Regions from separate parts of the Homo sapiens genome. Here all the other regions are linked to region 4. Evidence: promoter capture Hi-C in 16 types of primary human blood cells and fetal thymus (Javierre and others, 2016). All regions are on one chromosome and are shown on one strand. Each heading gives the region's core, a stretch centred on a gene start or on the middle of the fragment in contact. The rest is flanking DNA. Distances are from core to core; before and after follow the strand shown.

Region 1 (2,700 bases), core at 83-2,582, 650 kb after region 4:
ATGCGATTATTTCATATTTTTGCAAATCTCTTTAGTGTCTGGCTCAGTAACGGATGGCTGGATTCTCATATCTGTATCTGCTGTCAATTGAAGAAAAATAACCCTCTTTTAAAGAATTAAAGTCAGTTTGATTCAGACTCAGGATTGCAACCTTTCAGAGAGTTTCTGTTAAGACTGCTCCAAAGTAGCTTTTAGCCCACAGCTTACATGTCAGGGGTTGGAAGCTCTGCATGTGCTCAGAAATTACATTAAACATGCTCATAAACTGGGTATAGTGACTCACACCTGTAATTCTAGCACTTTGAGAGGCCTATGCATGAGGGTCTCTTGAGGCCAGGCATTCAAAACCAACCTGGGCAGCCAGGTGTGGACCTGTAGTCCCAGCTACTTGGTGGGCTGAGGCAGGAGCATCACTTTAGCCCAGGAGTTCCAGGTTGCAGTGAGCCATGACCATGCCACTGCATTCTAGTCTGGTTGATAAAGGGAGACTCTGTCTCTAAAAAAAAAAAAAAAAAAAAAAAAAAAAGCTCATAAATTACATTAGAGCAAAATCTCATCAAAGTTTGGGTGTAAGAGTACATCTGGTTATAGATTACAGAGGCATAATCATGAATCCTATGGGACACTATCTTATGTACTGGAAGAGGCAAGGGGTAGGAACACTGAACTTACCTTTTTTTAAAAAATGCATTGATTGAAGCAAGAGACGTGGGAACCTGTGCTCTAACCTGCTTATTGTTTCCAGGGCATTCTTCTAGAAGTCTATACTTAGTCACTGAGTTGGGCTTTGTGAAATTCTGCTGGCAAGCAGAATGAGCAAACTTGGTTTTTTATGTTTGCTACTTTGTCTAACATGTCAACATTTTGTGACTTATTTAGTTGAAGTATAATATATTAATATTAAGAAAAGCTGGCCTCACCAGGCGCGCTGGCTCACACCTGTAATCCCAGCACTTTGGGAGGCCGAGGCGGGTGGATTGCCTGAGGTCAGAGGTTCGAGACTAGCCTGGCCAACATGGTGAAACCCCGTTTCTACTAAAAATACAAAAATCAGTGGGGCATGGTGGCGCAAGCCTGTAATCCCGGCTACTTGGGAGGCTAAGCCAGGGGAATTGCCCGAACCTGGGAGGCGGAGGTTGCAGTGAGCTGAGATCGTGCCATTGCACTCCAGCCTGGGCTACAAGAGCGAAACTCTGTCTCAAAAAAAAAGAAAGAAAGAAAGAAGGAAAAACTGGCCTCAGTTACATATTTAGAAAAAGAAGAAGTATTTTAATAATTGTCAACAAGTGCAGTCAGTTTTTTTTTTTTTTTAAACAGAGTTTTGCTCTTGTCGCCTAGGCTGGGGTGCAATGGTGCGATCTCAGCTCATTGCAACCTCTGCCTCCCAGGTTCAAGCAATCCTCCTGCTTCAGCCTCCTGAGTAGCTGGAATTACAGGCTAATTTTCTTTTCTTTATTTTTTTTTTTTGAGATGGAGTTTTGCTCTTGTTGCCCAGGTTGGAGTGCAGTGGCATGATCTCTGTTCACTGCAACCTCTGCCTCTCAGGTTCAAGCAATTCTGCCTCAGCCTTCCGAGTAGCTGGGATTACAGGCACATACCACCATGCCCAGCTCATTTTTTTGTATTTTTAGTAGAGACGGGGGTTTTACTATGTTGGTCAGGCTGGTCTTGAACTCCTGACCTCAGGTGATCCACCCGCCTTGGCCTCCCAAAGCGCTGGGATTACAGACGTGAGCCACCGCACCCAGCTACGCCTGGCTAATTTTCTGTATTTTTAGTAGAGACGGGGTTTCACCATGTTGGCCAGGCTGGTCTCGAACTCCTGGCCTTGGGTGATCCTCCCACCTCGGCTTCCAAAGTGCTGGGATTACCCGTGTAAGCCACCATGCCTGACCTGTTTTTCTTAAAGTGATAAACTCATTTCATTTATTTTTGAAAAAATGTTTGCCAAATACTTAAATATGAACAACTGTACTTTGTGAGTCATTCTTTCAGGTAAAAATAATGTTCCATGAAAAAAGCTAACCACTCAATTACAAGTGGTTTTCTTTTCGATGACCATTCTACTTAGATATGCATTAGCTGGGCATGGTGGCGTATGCCTGTGGTCCCATCTACTCAGGAAGCTGAGGCAGGGGAAGATCGCTTGAGTCCAGGAGTTTGAGGCTAAAGTGCTTCATGACTGAACTTGTAAATAGCCACTGCACTCCAGTCTGGGTAACACAGTGAGACCCCATCTGTAAGAAATTTTTTTAAAAACATACTTTATGATTACTTCTCATTTTGTCATACTGAAGGTTAAAAAGACGTATAATTAAGGGTCAGGGTTTAACGAAATGAATACTGTTTATGGCTTTATTAAGGATATTCCTAAGGGAAACTGATTTTGCTTACAACGCCTATGTAACTGAAAAATACAGTGACTACTACAACATTTTGAATCCTACTGCCTTGATTTATTTTAAGGGACTGTTTTAATTTAGGAATTTTAAGATAGAGCATGCTTCTTCAATGATTAGTAGAAACACAGATATAAACAAAGATTTTATTACTTACATGCCTGGCGGGGCATCTGGCGCACCTGGAGGTCAAGGAATGCAGTCAGGGAAAGACAAAGAGGGACTCATGAGCCAATGCATTTATTGGGTTCATGGTGTTTTCCAAATAGATTTCCCAAGAGGAATTCCCACACTTTAATTG
Region 2 (2,700 bases), core at 121-2,620, 630 kb after region 4:
TCGATCTCCTGACCTCATGATCCACCCACCTTGGCCTCCCAAAGTGCTGGGATTACAGGCTCAAGCCACCATGTCCAGCCAAGAATATATTTTAAATTTAAATCAATCAATTCTCCTTCCTAGTAACTCTGATAAGAGATTTGGCATTATGCTGGGCATGGTGGCTCACGTCTGTAATCCCAAACACTTTGGGAGGCCGAGGTGGGCGGATCACCTGAGGTCGGGAGTTCAAGACCAGCCCGACCAACATGGAGAATTCCCATCTCTACTAAAAATATAAAATTAGCCAAGCGTGGTGGTGCATGCCTGTAATCCCAGCTACTTGGGAGGCTGAGGCAGGAGAATCGCTTGAACCCAGGAGGCGGAGGGTGCGGTGAGCCGAGATCACGCCATTACACTCCAGCCTGGGCAACAAGAGCAAAATTCCATCTCAAAAAAAAAAAAAAAAAATAGAGATTTGGCATTATGAGGGTGAAAGAGTAAGTCAAACAATGCTTGTGATATCTACAAGATTTAATTTACTCTGAACTCTGTTCTCACTTCCATGGGCTATCAGGATTATGGCCAGGGCATGGCAGCTCATGCCTATAATACCAGCACTTTGGGAGACCGATGTGGGAGGATCACCTGAGGTCAGGAGTTCGAAACCAGCATGGCCAACATGGCGAAACCCTGTCTCTACTAAAAATATAAAAATTAGGCGTGGTGACATGCGTTTATAATCCCAGCTACTTGAGAGGCTGAGGCAGGAGAATCGCTTGAACTCAGGAGGCGAGACTGCAGTGAGCACCAAGGTGGCTAAACTGCACTCTAGCCTGGGCAACAGAGTGAGACTCTGTAACAGAAAAAAAAAGAAAGGTACATTTAAAGGATATATTTTAAATTTAAATCAATCAATTCTCCTTCTCAGTAACCCTGATAAGAGATTTGGCATTATGAGGGTGAAACAATAAGTTAAACAATGCTTGTGACGTTTCTAAGATTTACTCTAAACTCTGTTCTCACTTCCACGGGCCATCAAGAATATGGCCAGGGCACGGCGGCTCACGCCTGTAATCCCAGCACATTGGGAGGCCAAGGTAGGCAAATCACCTGAGGTCAACAGTTCAAAACCAGCCTGGCCAACATGGCAAAACCCTGCTCTACTAAAAATATAAAAATTAGCTGGGCATGGTGGCACATGCCTGTAATCCCAGCTACTTGGAAGGCTGAGGCAAGAGAATCGCTCAATCCTGGGAGGCGGAGGCTGCTGTGAGCGGAGATCACGCCACTGCACTCCAGCCTGGGCAACAGAGCGAGACTCTGTCTCAAAAAAGAAAAAGACTAAAAAAATGGCCAGGTGCAGTGGCTCACAAGTGTTAACCCAGCATCCCTGAGGTGGGTGGATTGCTTGAGCACAGGAGTTCAAGACCAGCCTGGGCAACATGGCAAAACCCCATCTCTACAAAAATTAGCCTGGTGTGGTAGCACAAAACTGTAGTCCCAGCTACTTGGGAGGCTGAGGTGGGAGGGTCTCCTGAGCCTGGGAGGTTGAGGCTGTAGTGAGCCATGATCATGCCACTGCACTCCAGCCCGGGTGATAGAGTATAAGACCTTAATCTCAAAAAAAAAAAAAAAAAAAAAAAAAAAGAGAAAGACAGACTAATAAAATGCAGACACTAAAATTTTTCTTAACATTAAATTCAGCAATTAATGAAAAATCTATAGTGCAAAACCTTCAGGTATATCAAGAAAGAGCAGTAAAAAGCAAATAAAATAAAATTCAAAAAATTACAGTTTAACATTTTTAAAGGCAGTGTCACTTATACCATTAAAGTAAACAGTTAAACATTAATAATCACTTTACATATTTCTAATTAGAATTCAAAATAAAACTTCAATGGAGAATACAATTGTTTAAAAAAGGGTGTTGTCAGCCAGGCGCGGTGGCTTACATCTGTAATCCCAGCACTTTGGGAGGCTGAGGCGGGCGGATCACCTGAGGTCAGGAGTTGAGACCAGCCTGGCCAACATGGCGGAGCCCCGTCTCTACTAAAAATACAAAAATTAGCTGGGTGTGGTGGCGCACGCCCGTAATCCCAGCTATTCGGGAGGCTGAGGCAGGAGAACTGCTTGAACCCAGGAGGCGGAGATTGCAGTGAGCCAAGATTGCGCCACTGCACTCCAGCCTACTCGATGGAACGAGACTCCATCTCGAAAAAAATGTGTGTTGTTGTTCAGGTCTATACCATTTGGAGTTTACATATACAAACATAATCTCTTCCTTATAGTTTTATTTCTTACCTGCTTTTGGCTTCACAAGCCCCACAGCAAGAATAGTCTCACTAAGTCCATCAAAATAGGCAAGGTCTCCTCTGTGAATAAATGAAGAAAAACATGTTACACATATAAAGCAAATAGGCCAGATGTGGTGGCTCATGTCTTTAATCCCAGTACTTTGGGAGTCTGAGGCAGGAGGACTGCCTGAGCCCAGAAGTTCAAGACCAGCCTGGGCAACATAGTGAGACTGTCTCTACAAAAAAGAAACAAAAAATTAGCCAGGCATGGGGGTGTGAGGCCACTGAGTTGGCAGGATCGCAAAGGCCTGGGAGGTTGAGGCTGCAGTGAGTAGTGATCATGCCACTGCACTCCAGCCTGGGTGACAAAGTGAGAGCCTGTCTCAAAAAAGAAAAGAAAAGAAAAACAGAAAACCAAGTATTA
Region 3 (2,700 bases), core at 35-2,534, 560 kb before region 4:
TGTTATTGAAGTATAGTTAAGCTTACTCTTCCATAGAGGCCACTTCCTCCAGGAAGGCTTCCTTAACCTCTGCACCATTCCCATGTGCTGCACAGCACCCTGAATCCTGCTGTAGCCCATCAGGATAGTTTATTGAAATTTCCTGTTTAATTGTTTGTCTGTATCTCTCAAACTCAGAGTAGAATAAGGGTCAGGATTGTACCTTACTTATTGTTGTGGCCCAAAACCTAGAACAGACCTCAGTGTATATAGTACATGGTTAATAAATACGTGAGTGGATGACTATACTTATAGCTAAATATAGTTATGCCCAATCAATTACTAGATTCTGATCTAGATATGTAAGAGGCAGCAGAGGTCTGAGAGAGTTGGATTAATGGGAGAAAAACTTGAGAAAAGCCTGTCATTCAACTTTGTTTTCAATTTGGGGAGCAGGGCAAGAGCCTGGTTTGAGAACCTTTGTCCCCTGCCCATGTTGACTTTGGAGGAACTTTGTGGCAGTGATGGAACAGCTGCCACGTCGAGGAGCCTCCTCACAACCTCCAGCTGCCTCCCCAGATCAGCAGGGGTGATCTGCCTTCAGCTTTCTACCCCTAGCTTTCAGGGCCTCAGTCAGTCCTTTAATTTTGTCCCCTGAAGGGCGTGAGGCTAGGGGAACAGGCATTCATTGAACAACTGTGTATCTCCTACTCATTCTTCAAGAGAGGCCACTTCCTCCAGAAAGGCTTCCCTAACCCCTGCGCCATTCCCATAAGCTGCACAGCACCCCGAATCCTACTGTAGCCCATCAGGATAGGTTATTGAAGTTTCCTGTTTGTCTATATCTCTCAAACTCTGAGCAGAATAAGGGTCAGGATTGTGCCTTATTTATCATTGTGTCCTTAAAACCTAGAATAGACCTCAGTGTATAGTACATATTTTATAAATATGGGAGTGGATGAATGTATCAATTTTATGCTAGTTCCTGAAAATACAAAAATTGTTAAAAAAAAAAAAAAAAGCGTTTTTGTTTCTCAAGAGCTCCTGGGGGTCTAGAGAGATGAGTAAGTAAATAATGAAATTATGGTACATAAGTGGCCTGTCCTTGTTGATGTCACGGGAGGCCTTCTGTGGGAACTGGGGCTTCCATTTGATTTTAAATGAATAGTAGTTGGAGGCAAGCACAGGATGTGCAAAAGCATTGAGATACGGCACAGAATGACTCATTCTAAGAATTACAGGTAGCTCCAAATGGCTGGAACACATTTCTAGATAACAAACCTAGGAAAACTAGTTGAGACCTGGCTGAAAGCGTTTAACTTTGTACTAAGCATTGTGGACTTTAGCCTAAATACCTGGGGTGTACCACTGAAGGATTCTAACTGGGGGAAAGACATGCTGGTTTAGAAAGACTGCCCAGGGCAGCAGGTGTTTGTCACACTCCTCGGTGTTTTTCTCCCTTGTGTCCTCAAACCCACTTATACAGGGCCTGGTACAAAGGACATGCTCAGTAAAGACTGGCACCTTTAAATGGGAGTAGGAGGAGAGAATATCACCAGAATTGGTGTAGAAGATCCATCAGAGGTGGAAAGCCTAGGAAGGCAATCATTGAACTCATCTGACTGTTTTTTAGGATTCCTTCATTGTGCATTTATTTCCTTCTTGGCAATTGTTACATTATCCTGAGCTTGTGGGATTATTCTATGTATTCATATGTAAGAGTTTCATACTTGTTGAATAGTTATTTAGAGATTGCTTCTATGAAAGAAAACTGCGCTTCCTGCATCCACCTTTCTGTTCTAAACACAGCAGCCAGAGTGATCCTTTTTGAACTTACGTGAGGGCCTGTCATTCCTGTGCTCAGAATCTTCTAGTGGTGCCTCATAGAATTCAGCGTCAAAGCCAAAGGCTTTATCATGACCTAGGAAGCCTGCATGACCTGGCTGCTCTCTGATTTTTCTACCCACCTACCTCTGCGCTCTACACTGGCCTCCTTGCTATGCCTCAAACACACATGCTGTTCCTTGGATCTAGAACACGTACACCAGATACTCACAGGGCTCACTCCCTCACTTTGTTCAAGCCTTTGCTTAGTGATCGTCATCTCAGTATGGCCTTCCCTGACCACCATGTTCAAACTTAATAACATCTGCTCTGAACTCTCTGTTCTCTCCCTTGCCCTGTTTAATTTTTCTGCACAGCACAGATCAATTTTACTATATCATATAATGTACTTATTTTTTGATGTGTGATTATCTGTTCCGCATTACTGGAATGAAGTCCCACGAAGGTAGTGTTTTGGGTCTGATTTACTACTCCTTCCCAACACCTAAAATGATACCTGGCACCATAGTAGGAGCTCAGTAAATATTTGTTGAATTAAGAAATGACAATACCCTTTTGTATTGCTCTTTTAGGTAAACTGTGCCTTTTGTAAACCTGAAAGAAAGCATATTAGTCTGTTCTCATGTTGTTAATAAAGACATACCCAAGACTGGGTAATTCATAAAGGAAAGAGGTTTAATTGACTCACAGTTCAGCCTGGCTGGGGAGGCCTCAGGAAACGTACAAGCTTGGTGGAAGGGGAAGCAAACGTCCTTCTCCACATGGCGGCATCAAGTGCAGAGCAAAGGGGTCGGGGAAGCCACTTGTAAAACCATAAGATCTTGTGGGAACTCACTTATCACCAGAACAGCATCAAATTACAGGGGCGGTTATCAC
Region 4 (2,700 bases), core at 183-2,682:
AGAAATGAAATAGAAAATAAAAACGAATGGTAGAAATAAAAGGAACTGAGTAGTAGGGGGCAGAGGCATGTCTAGGGGAGAGAACTAGAACTGCCAAGGGATTTGAGTGCCTGATGGATTCTGAAGACTGAAATATACATGACCCCAAAAAGCAATGTCATTTGTAAATATTTGTTAATGAGTTTAGTGAAGTGCTACATGGAGGAATGATCTAGCCAATGAGAACAATGTGCACCAGCCAGTTGGATTCTTGAAGCTGCAGAGACTTCATCTTCAGCCACAGCAGGTGGCTGAGGGCTAGAGTTACTTGGGACTTTCCCCAATGCTCTAGTTCCTTCTATCTCTTGGAAACAAGTCTGGCTCAATATGTTCAGCAGCCCCATTGATGTTGCCCAGAGGAAGTGTGGATCAGGGCTCGCTGACCCCAAGGTTAGCAGCAGAAGAGCAGGGCCTCTGCCTCCCCAGCCAGGAAGCCCACAGTCTTGGCCACATGAATGAAGGAGGTCTTGGCAGCATCTGACACACCTCGGGGTAATGATTTAGCCACCCCAAATTACCGTGTCTCCACAAAATAGTCACTTGGGGCCACACTACATTGTGGAGAGATAATGAAAGAGCTTCTATTTTTGAGCTATCTTTTCCTCATATGCGAATAATTTCACACACAAAAAAATGAGAAAACCACTTCTCTCTGTCACCTACAGAATCAGGAACAGGGATCAGATTATCTTTTAGATACCCGCCCCAAAAAGAAATAAAAATCAAGAAAACATGGGTAAATACCATGGTGGACATTTAAATGAAGCTGAGAAAGAAAGCTTTCTCTATTTAGAGAAGAATTCAAAATGGATGGCAGGAGATTTGTTGAAAATAAGGAAGAGGGAGGGAAAGGTTAGTAAATAATAGGTCAAATCTTCAGCCTAGAGGGCACTACTAAGTTTTCTTTTGTTCCCCCTTAGGTTTCCTGGTGTAGCAGTGCAGTTGCAACGTAGTTTTGTTTTTTGGGTTTCTTTAAACCTAGAGTGGTAAGAGGGACTTGGTGGCGATGGACTGCCATGGGTCGGTTCCTTAGAGGGCTCTTGAGTTTTTCCCACCTGTCTCCAACTCCAGGGCCACCACTCTAATAAAGCCACTGCCATCTCTGACCAGCTCCCCTGCTGTGGCTTTCACTCTTGCTCTCTTTACAGCCCATTCCACACAGCAGCAGCCAGCATGGCACTTCCCGTTCTGGGCCCCTCCCACTGACTGCACCCTGTGCTTGTCCTTCATAGTGTGTAAAGATCTGTATGTGGGGTGATTTGACTAACGGTTCTCTCCCCTTAAGTATAAGTAAACCTATGAGGGCAAGGACTGCTTACCTTAGCATCCTTGGTTCCTGGTAGGATGCCCATCCCATAACAGGCTGGAGCTCCTGGGTGTGTGGGAGGGAGTAGGAAGGAAGCAACAGCTGCCAATCAAAGGCCCATTTGGGCATGTGACCCTTAGCTAGCCAATCAGAATCCTTTCCAGGGTTGTAGCAGTTGAAGCTGTGAGCAGCTCAGTTGGTTGGGTTGTCTGTCTTGTCTTGGCTTGGATTCTCCCAGAAGGAGATCCTGAGTCAATGATTCGGGTGCAAGTAGATTTCTTCTGGGAGCCTTTCTTTAATAAAGCACTTGCACCTGAGTCATTGACTCAGGATCTATTTCAGGATCTCCTTCTTGAGGGAGAGGGCGAAACAGGATCCAGAAGAAGCAAAGCAATGGAGCAGGCATGGCATCAGGAAGAGGACAGGGAGGCTGCCGTAAGCCCAGCAGGCTCCCTTTCAGGCTGTTAAGGAGGGGGATGAGTACGAACATGAAGGTGGCCCAAGTAGCTCTAAGGTCCCTTCTCTCATCTCCTGTCCTTACCGGGGGCCGTAGGCTCTAGATAAAACGCTGCCCCACCACCCGCCAGGGCTTTTGTTTTGGCTCACCTTTCATCCGCCTTCTCAGACTCTGTCTGCCTTGGCTTCCCTCAGCTGAACCCAGGGAATTTGCATTTTGCTATTTTCCATCTGCACTGGGTAGCCTGGCTCCAGATGTTTGGGGCAGCAAATGCAGAAATTCCAGGCAAACGGATCTGATCATTCTCTGCTTGGCTCCACTCGCTGCATCCCAAGCACCAGATGCCTCACTGGTGTCTGCCTACCTTCCTGGGAGGCAGATCCACCGCTCATAAGATAGAGCCCAACGACAAGACCCTGTACTTATGGAGGCCTTTTATTTAACAACTCATTTCATTGAAGGAAAAATCTAGAATCTACTAAGACCTCCTGATATTTTTTAATTAACTAGAAATTGTGGATGTATCCCTCAATATTTTCATCTAAAGTGGTTGAAATGATAATGGAGGGGAAACTGTGTTTTAAAAGCGTGTTACTCCATTTCTTTCATTCACCTCCATCAATGATAATATGAGTTATCACTCTTAATATTAACCACGTGGCAGGCTTCATGCATTCTCACATACATTTCACCCTAAGGCCTGGAGAAGATAATTTCACCAAAGTCACACAGGTAGTACATGGAAAGGTGTAAATTTGAACCTGGATCTTACTGCAAACCCATACTCTTAACTGCTTCATTCAACTTTTGCCAGCAATCATTTGTCATAGACTAAATGCCAGAACCTAAGCCCAAGATTTTGCAGTATACAGAGGAGAAACTGGATGTCTTTTGAAAT
Region 5 (2,700 bases), core at 167-2,666, 590 kb after region 4:
AAGCTCATTTGCCTAGAAGAGGAGATAACAAGAACTTAAAAATATATAAAATCAAGCAGACAGATGATGCTGTCAACTAAGTTTTAGTCTATGTCTAAATTTATATATGGTTATTACCATTAAAATGAAAACAACTCTACAAACTTACTTCTTAATTTTAGGCAGAAAAGTTTTTGACCAAAGATTCCTAGCTATTCTTAATTCCTCTCCCAAATATGTTAAGCAAGAGAACTTTTGTCTGGTAATTCTCTTGCCTAGTCAATACATTATTGGGCAGCAGGCAGTCCATGTGACACTGATTTATTTATTTTTTCCACCTGTAGGAAAGGATCAATAAAAATGCCCCCATTAACTCTAATTCACTAAAAGATTTACTTGAAGTTTTAGTACTTTTCCTTAAGCTAAGGAGATAAATTATCCCCTAAATTTCCTTAATTTCTAAATTTAGTGATTTTTCTTAATTTCTCACCTTTGGTTTTTTAATATGGCCTAGAAACACTATCAAAGATTCTTTATGGGCCAGGCGCAGAGGCTCATGTCTATAATCCCAACACTTTGCAAGGCTGAGGCAGGCGGAGGTCAGGAGTTCAAAACCAGCCTAGACAACATGGTGAAATCCTGTCTCTACCAAAAATATAAAAAATTAGCCAGGTGTGATGGTGCACACCTGTAATCCCAGCTATTTGGGAGGCCGAGGCAGGAGAATCACTTGAACCTGGGAGGTGGAGGTTGCAGTGAGCTGAGATCGTACTCAGTCTTAAAAAAAAAGAGAGAATATTCTTTATGAAAAACTTAAAGGAGGGCTGGGCATGGTGGCTCACACTTATAATCCCAGCACTATGGGAGGCTGAGGCAGGAGGATCACTTGAAGCCAAGAGTTCAAGACCAGCCTGTGCAACAAATCAGAACTTGTCTCTATAAAAAACAAAAAAATTGGCTGGGTGTAGTGGTGCACACCCGTAGCCCCTAGCTACATGAGAGGCCTGCTTGAGTCTAGGACTTAGAAGCTGCTGTGAGCTATGATCACAGCACTGCACTACAGCCTAAGCAACAGAGTGAAACCCTGTGTCAAATAAATAAATAAAAATATTTTTAAAAAGAAAAGCTAAGCTTAAAAGAGTATACACTGGTTTTAAGAAGCCACATATTCCAACCCCTTTCTTAGATGAGGATTCTGAGGCTAGGAGAGGTTAAGAGATCTAACTGACTGAGGTCCTATATTAAGTGAAACAAGATGGTTCATCATACATGATACCTCTTATAACAAACAATGAAATAGGTAATAAAGTATCATACCTTAGAACAAATTGCATCATCAGTGCTATATAGAAGTGGGCAGATATCCTGTAAATGTAAACTAATGCCATCAACAGCGGCATTATCTCTGATGTAGCAGTTGATAAGAGAAGCAATTAATGCCCCTGTGAGTTCTTTGTCCCTGATTACAAGATCTTTAAAGGTGGTGATCTTCAGCTGCTCTTGAAGTTCCTAGGAGCATAAAACTTTTCTATCACAATTATAGAAATACCATATTTCTAAACATAATGAAATTATTTTAATAAATTAAAATAACCTAAATATTAATAGACTCTATAATTGAAAAGCGAAAATATACTAATTAGTAGAAACAAATTTTTGCGAACTTACATAAAATCATAGAGAGTTGGAAAAGAACCTACAGTAGATCTAGTCCAAAACTCTCACTTTCCAAATGAGAAAAGTAAAGCTTAAGTAGAGCCAAAACTAGAGTCAGATCTCCTGGCTTTGGTTATAAAATGGAAAAAACAATCACTTGGCTATATTTGAAAATCTTGGGCTTACATATTACTCCTTCCTAAACACTGTTAGAATTCCATTATTCTAGGCCTTATAATAATATTGGAGTTTAATCTGTATTGTGAACAAATCTGCTTGTCCAAATGAAGCTCTAAAGTATTGATTTATACTATAGTAAAAGATTCTGTTAGTGATGTGACTGCTATCTCTTTTTTCTAAATTCAAGGAAATACCCAAACTGTGTTAAAATTCTTGAACAAATCTTTAATTTGCATTCATTGAGCATGCCATTGGTGATGTAAGGAAGAGAGCTTTGAAGATGGATCACAAAAACATACCCAGGATAAAAACCTACCTACAATATATTTATCACTCTATAAAACTCAAAATTATTATTCTACTTGGTATGAAAAAGATAAGTTTCATAATTAAATATATTAGCTTGAATTTTTAAAAATAAAAAACAGTATGTATTTAAAAGAAACAAAACCACCAACAAAAGCCACACTATTCATTGGACACTAGTGGAAAGAATGAGGAGACTGCCTTCCAACGTTGAAAAATGGTATACGAGAGTCAAAAAGTAAGTGTTTCAGAGTAATGAAATATCCATACAGGACAAGGAAAAAGAATTTTTTTTTTTTTTTTTACAGAATTGCAGCTAGTAACTGGGGAAGGAATCACAGATTTAAAATATTATCCTTTTGGCCGGGCATGGTGGCTCATGCCTGTAATCCCAGCACTTTGGGAGGCCAAGGCAGGTAGATCACCTGACGTCAGGAGTTCAACACCAGCCTGGCCAACATGGCGAAACCCGGTCTCTTACTAAAACTACAAAAATCAGCCAGGCGTTGTGGCACATGCCTGTAGTCCCAGCTACTCGGGAAGCTGAGGCAGGAGAACTGCTTGTACCCGGGAGGTGGA
Region 6 (2,700 bases), core at 120-2,619, 520 kb after region 4:
AGATTTCTAATCTTATCTCCATGTTTGTTAAGCTATCAATGACCAATTAAGTAAAACAGTCCCAAGATTCTGTAAACAATAATAGTAATAAAATATAAATGATGCATAATATTCACTGGGCATTTTTTTTTTTTTTTTGAGACAAGAGTTTCGTTCTGTTGCCCCAGCTGGAGTGCAGTGATATGATCTCAGCTCACTGCAACCTCCGCCTCCCGGATTCAAGTGATTCTCCTGCGTTAGCCTCCCGAGTAGCTGGGACTACAAGCGTGTGCCACCACGCCTGGCTAATTTTAAGTAGAGATGGGGTTTCACCATGTTGGCCAGGCTGGTCTCAAACTCCTGACTTCAAGTGATCCATCCACTTCGTCCTCCCAAAGTGCTGGGATAACAGGCACGATCCACTGCGCATGGACCACTGAAGATCTTAACTGACAATTTTCATAAAGTTTTGATTTATATTTTATTTCTGAGTTGAAGTTTTGCTCTTGTAGCCCAGGCTGCAGTGCAGTGGCGCGATCTCGGCTCACTGCAACCTCCGCCTCCCGGGTTCAAGCGATTCTCTTGCCTCAGCCTCCCGAGTAGCTGGGATTACAGGCATGCACCACCACACCGGACTAATTTTTTTGTATTTTTAGTAGAAACCGGGTTTCACCATGTTGGCCAGGCTGGTCTCGAACCCCTGACCTTGGGTGATCCGCCCGACTCAGCCTCCCAAAGTGCTGGGATTACAGGCGTGATCCACTGTGCCCGGCCAAATTAGATGGGCTTGTTTTTTTGTTTTTTTAATAAAATAGCTTTAAAAGAAAAACTACTCAGAGACAGCACACAAAGATCTATCAAGATGCTAGCTATCAGTCAGCACGGAGGCTGAGATGGGAAGATCGCTTGAGGACAAGAGAGTTCGAGGCTGCAGTGAGCTGTGATTGTGCCTGTGAGAGCCACTGCACTCCAGCGTGGGCAACGCAGCGAAGACTCCGGCTCAAAAATAAATAAATAAAATTGCAAATAAAATAAATTCTCACAAAAGGGTTAACCAAATGCCAGAGAAACGCCGGCATTAGAAAAGCATCATTTGCAGCTCCTAATGAAATAACAAATCCAGTCAATAGTATCAGCGCTGCTAAAATTATTGAGTGAAAAAATACTGGGAACTTTATGCACTGACATACCCTAAATCCATTAGTCAATCTTAAAATTGCTAAGAGCGAGGAAAATTGACGTTCTATTCCTCCGGATCCTGCTCGAGAAGCTGGGGGACTCGGGTCCGGTGCCGAGGTGTGGCCCGAGCCTGGCACCACCCACGCCGGCCGGGTGACCCCGGCCCCTTGGGGCTCCCGCGCTCCGTCAGCAGGCGACGCTGGGAGGCTGGGGTAGGCCCAGAGCGAGGACGGGCCCGGACTGGGTAGTGGGGATGTACCAGGGCCGGGTGCGGCGGGAGACGGCCCGGGAGGCGGAAGGTCGCGGACCTGCCCGACAGAAGAGTAGATGAGGGGAGACCGAGGACGCCCGGGTCCGGGGAGCTTACGAGGAGGCCAGGATCGCGGGGTAAGGAATCCGCGGGCAGTTACCTCCGCCAGGGGCAGGGTCCGGCCAGTCAGGCGCGAGAAGGCTAGGCGAGGCCGACTGCGCGGGGTGAAGACGCCAGGCCGACAGCTGCGGGCCCTACCGCCAGCCCTGACGCGAGCCTGCGTCCTGGCGACGGCGGAGGGCGGGCAGGGGGCGCGGGCGCTGCCACGGCGCCTGCTCAGAACCGGCCGGGAACGCCGCGGGCGGGTCTCCCCGGTCCTCCGCCCCTCCAGCCCTGCTCTCAGGCCTCCGCCCGGGCCCTCTAAGCTGCCAGCCGCGCCCGCCTCCGGGCTCCTCGCCCCTCCTCCCGCGCGCTCCCCTCCTCAGCGGCCGCCGGACCCCCTCAGTTCACTTCTCCCAGTTAACGCGTTCCTCGGACGCTGCTAGTTTGAGCGCACAGGCATTGGGCGGGGCTCACGGGGGAGCCGCTTAATAACCGACCAACATGAAACTCAAGGGCTGCCCCTTCCTAGCGGGGACCCTGCACAGACCCGAAAATAAGGGGTTTTGCTCTGCCCTCCTCAGTTCACGTGGGCACCTTGGAACACTGAAGAAGGCATTTTCCGAACTCACTGTCCTACGGACTTATTCTCCGCACTGTTTTCGCCTCCTTCGCCCTGTTCTCGTGACTGACAGGAGCAGGGGTCACAAGCAGGCAGCCCGAGAGCTCTGCTCACCTGGAAAAGCATTTTTGTGTAGCTTAAATGTGAAGGCCTCAGGCAGTGGCCTGTTGTCCTCCTCCACATGCGCCCATCTTCACTCTTTCATGTGACTGGCCTGTTTTTGAAGGCAGGACCCTGTCACCCTTGGCTAGGCCAGGTATGTTCTGCACCGAAAATGGCCCTGCCCTCTGCATTGGATGGCTAGCTCTTAGGTTGGTTTATTTTAGCAAATAAGCGTTACAGGGTAGGCGAACTGGCTGCATCAGAACCACAATTACCCCTGTGTCTCTGGGTGGGATAAATGGCGGATGGCATTCTGGCAGCTCAGCCCCACTTATCTCAGAGGTTATAGATCTGAGGTGGTTTAGATCCACCCCCAAATCACGAACATTTTACATAAGCCGTGCTAGAGTTAGCATAAAAGTCTCACAGAAAAATTTGGAAACTGAGAAATCCTAACCTATTCCCACAA

Evidence for each region. Contacts are between HindIII fragments. The CHiCAGO score rates a contact against its expected background, and 5 or more counts as called.
Region 1: a fragment that was not itself captured here is called in contact with the fragment with the promoter of SLC1A3-AS1 in region 4 in 3 of 17 cell types (erythroblasts, naive B cells and total B cells); the score reaches 7.9 in erythroblasts.
Region 2: a fragment that was not itself captured here is called in contact with the fragment with the promoter of SLC1A3-AS1 in region 4 in 1 of 17 cell types (neutrophils); the score reaches 5.2 in neutrophils.
Region 3: a fragment that was not itself captured here is called in contact with the fragment with the promoter of SLC1A3-AS1 in region 4 in 1 of 17 cell types (neutrophils); the score reaches 5.8 in neutrophils.
Region 5: a contact is called between a fragment that was not itself captured here and the fragment with the promoter of SLC1A3-AS1 in region 4, in 3 of 17 cell types (erythroblasts, fetal thymus and megakaryocytes). The highest score is 7.8, in erythroblasts.
Region 6: a contact is called between the fragment with the promoter of CPLANE1-AS1 here and the fragment with the promoter of SLC1A3-AS1 in region 4, in 7 of 17 cell types (activated CD4 T cells, fetal thymus, erythroblasts and 4 more). The highest score is 7.9, in activated CD4 T cells.

Annotation. Positions count from the first base shown.
Region 1 is chr5:37,373,204-37,375,903 of GRCh38, forward strand. No RefSeq gene overlaps it. Among named protein-coding and RNA genes, the nearest start is that of NUP155, 3.4 kb to the left of the region's middle. The HindIII fragment of the contact is 2,807 bases long and covers 1-2,700 here.
Region 2 is chr5:37,355,798-37,358,497 of GRCh38, forward strand. NUP155 (nucleoporin 155) reads right to left here. Exons shown (of 35, transcript NM_153485.3): 4 at 2,284-2,354. Among named protein-coding and RNA genes, the nearest start is that of NUP155, 14 kb to the right of the region's middle. The HindIII fragment of the contact is 8,560 bases long and covers 1-2,700 here.
Region 3 is chr5:36,160,309-36,163,008 of GRCh38, forward strand. All of the region lies in intron 2 of SKP2 (S-phase kinase associated protein 2), which reads left to right. Among named protein-coding and RNA genes, the nearest start is that of SKP2, 9.5 kb to the left of the region's middle. The HindIII fragment of the contact is 2,530 bases long and covers 20-2,549 here.
Region 4 is chr5:36,723,756-36,726,455 of GRCh38, forward strand. It overlaps SLC1A3-AS1 (SLC1A3 antisense RNA 1), which reads right to left and starts at 1,433. Exons shown (of 2, transcript XR_007058736.1): 1 at 1,359-1,433. RefSeq lists enhancers at 11-60, 71-120, 161-430. The HindIII fragment of the contact is 5,384 bases long and covers 817-2,700 here.
Region 5 is chr5:37,309,256-37,311,955 of GRCh38, forward strand. NUP155 (nucleoporin 155) reads right to left here. Exons shown (of 35, transcript NM_153485.3): 23 at 1,297-1,488; 24 at 1-12. Among named protein-coding and RNA genes, the nearest start is that of NUP155, 60 kb to the right of the region's middle. The HindIII fragment of the contact is 616 bases long and covers 1,109-1,724 here.
Region 6 is chr5:37,247,677-37,250,376 of GRCh38, forward strand. It overlaps CPLANE1-AS1 (CPLANE1 antisense RNA 1), which reads left to right and starts at 1,370. Exons shown (of 2, transcript NR_134263.1): 1 at 1,370-1,545. CPLANE1 (ciliogenesis and planar polarity effector complex subunit 1) reads right to left here and starts at 1,700. Exons shown (of 53, transcript NM_001384732.1): 1 at 1,569-1,700; 2 at 1-69. The coding sequence starts at 22. RefSeq lists silencers at 1,201-1,340, 1,541-2,020. The HindIII fragment of the contact is 6,498 bases long and covers 1-2,700 here.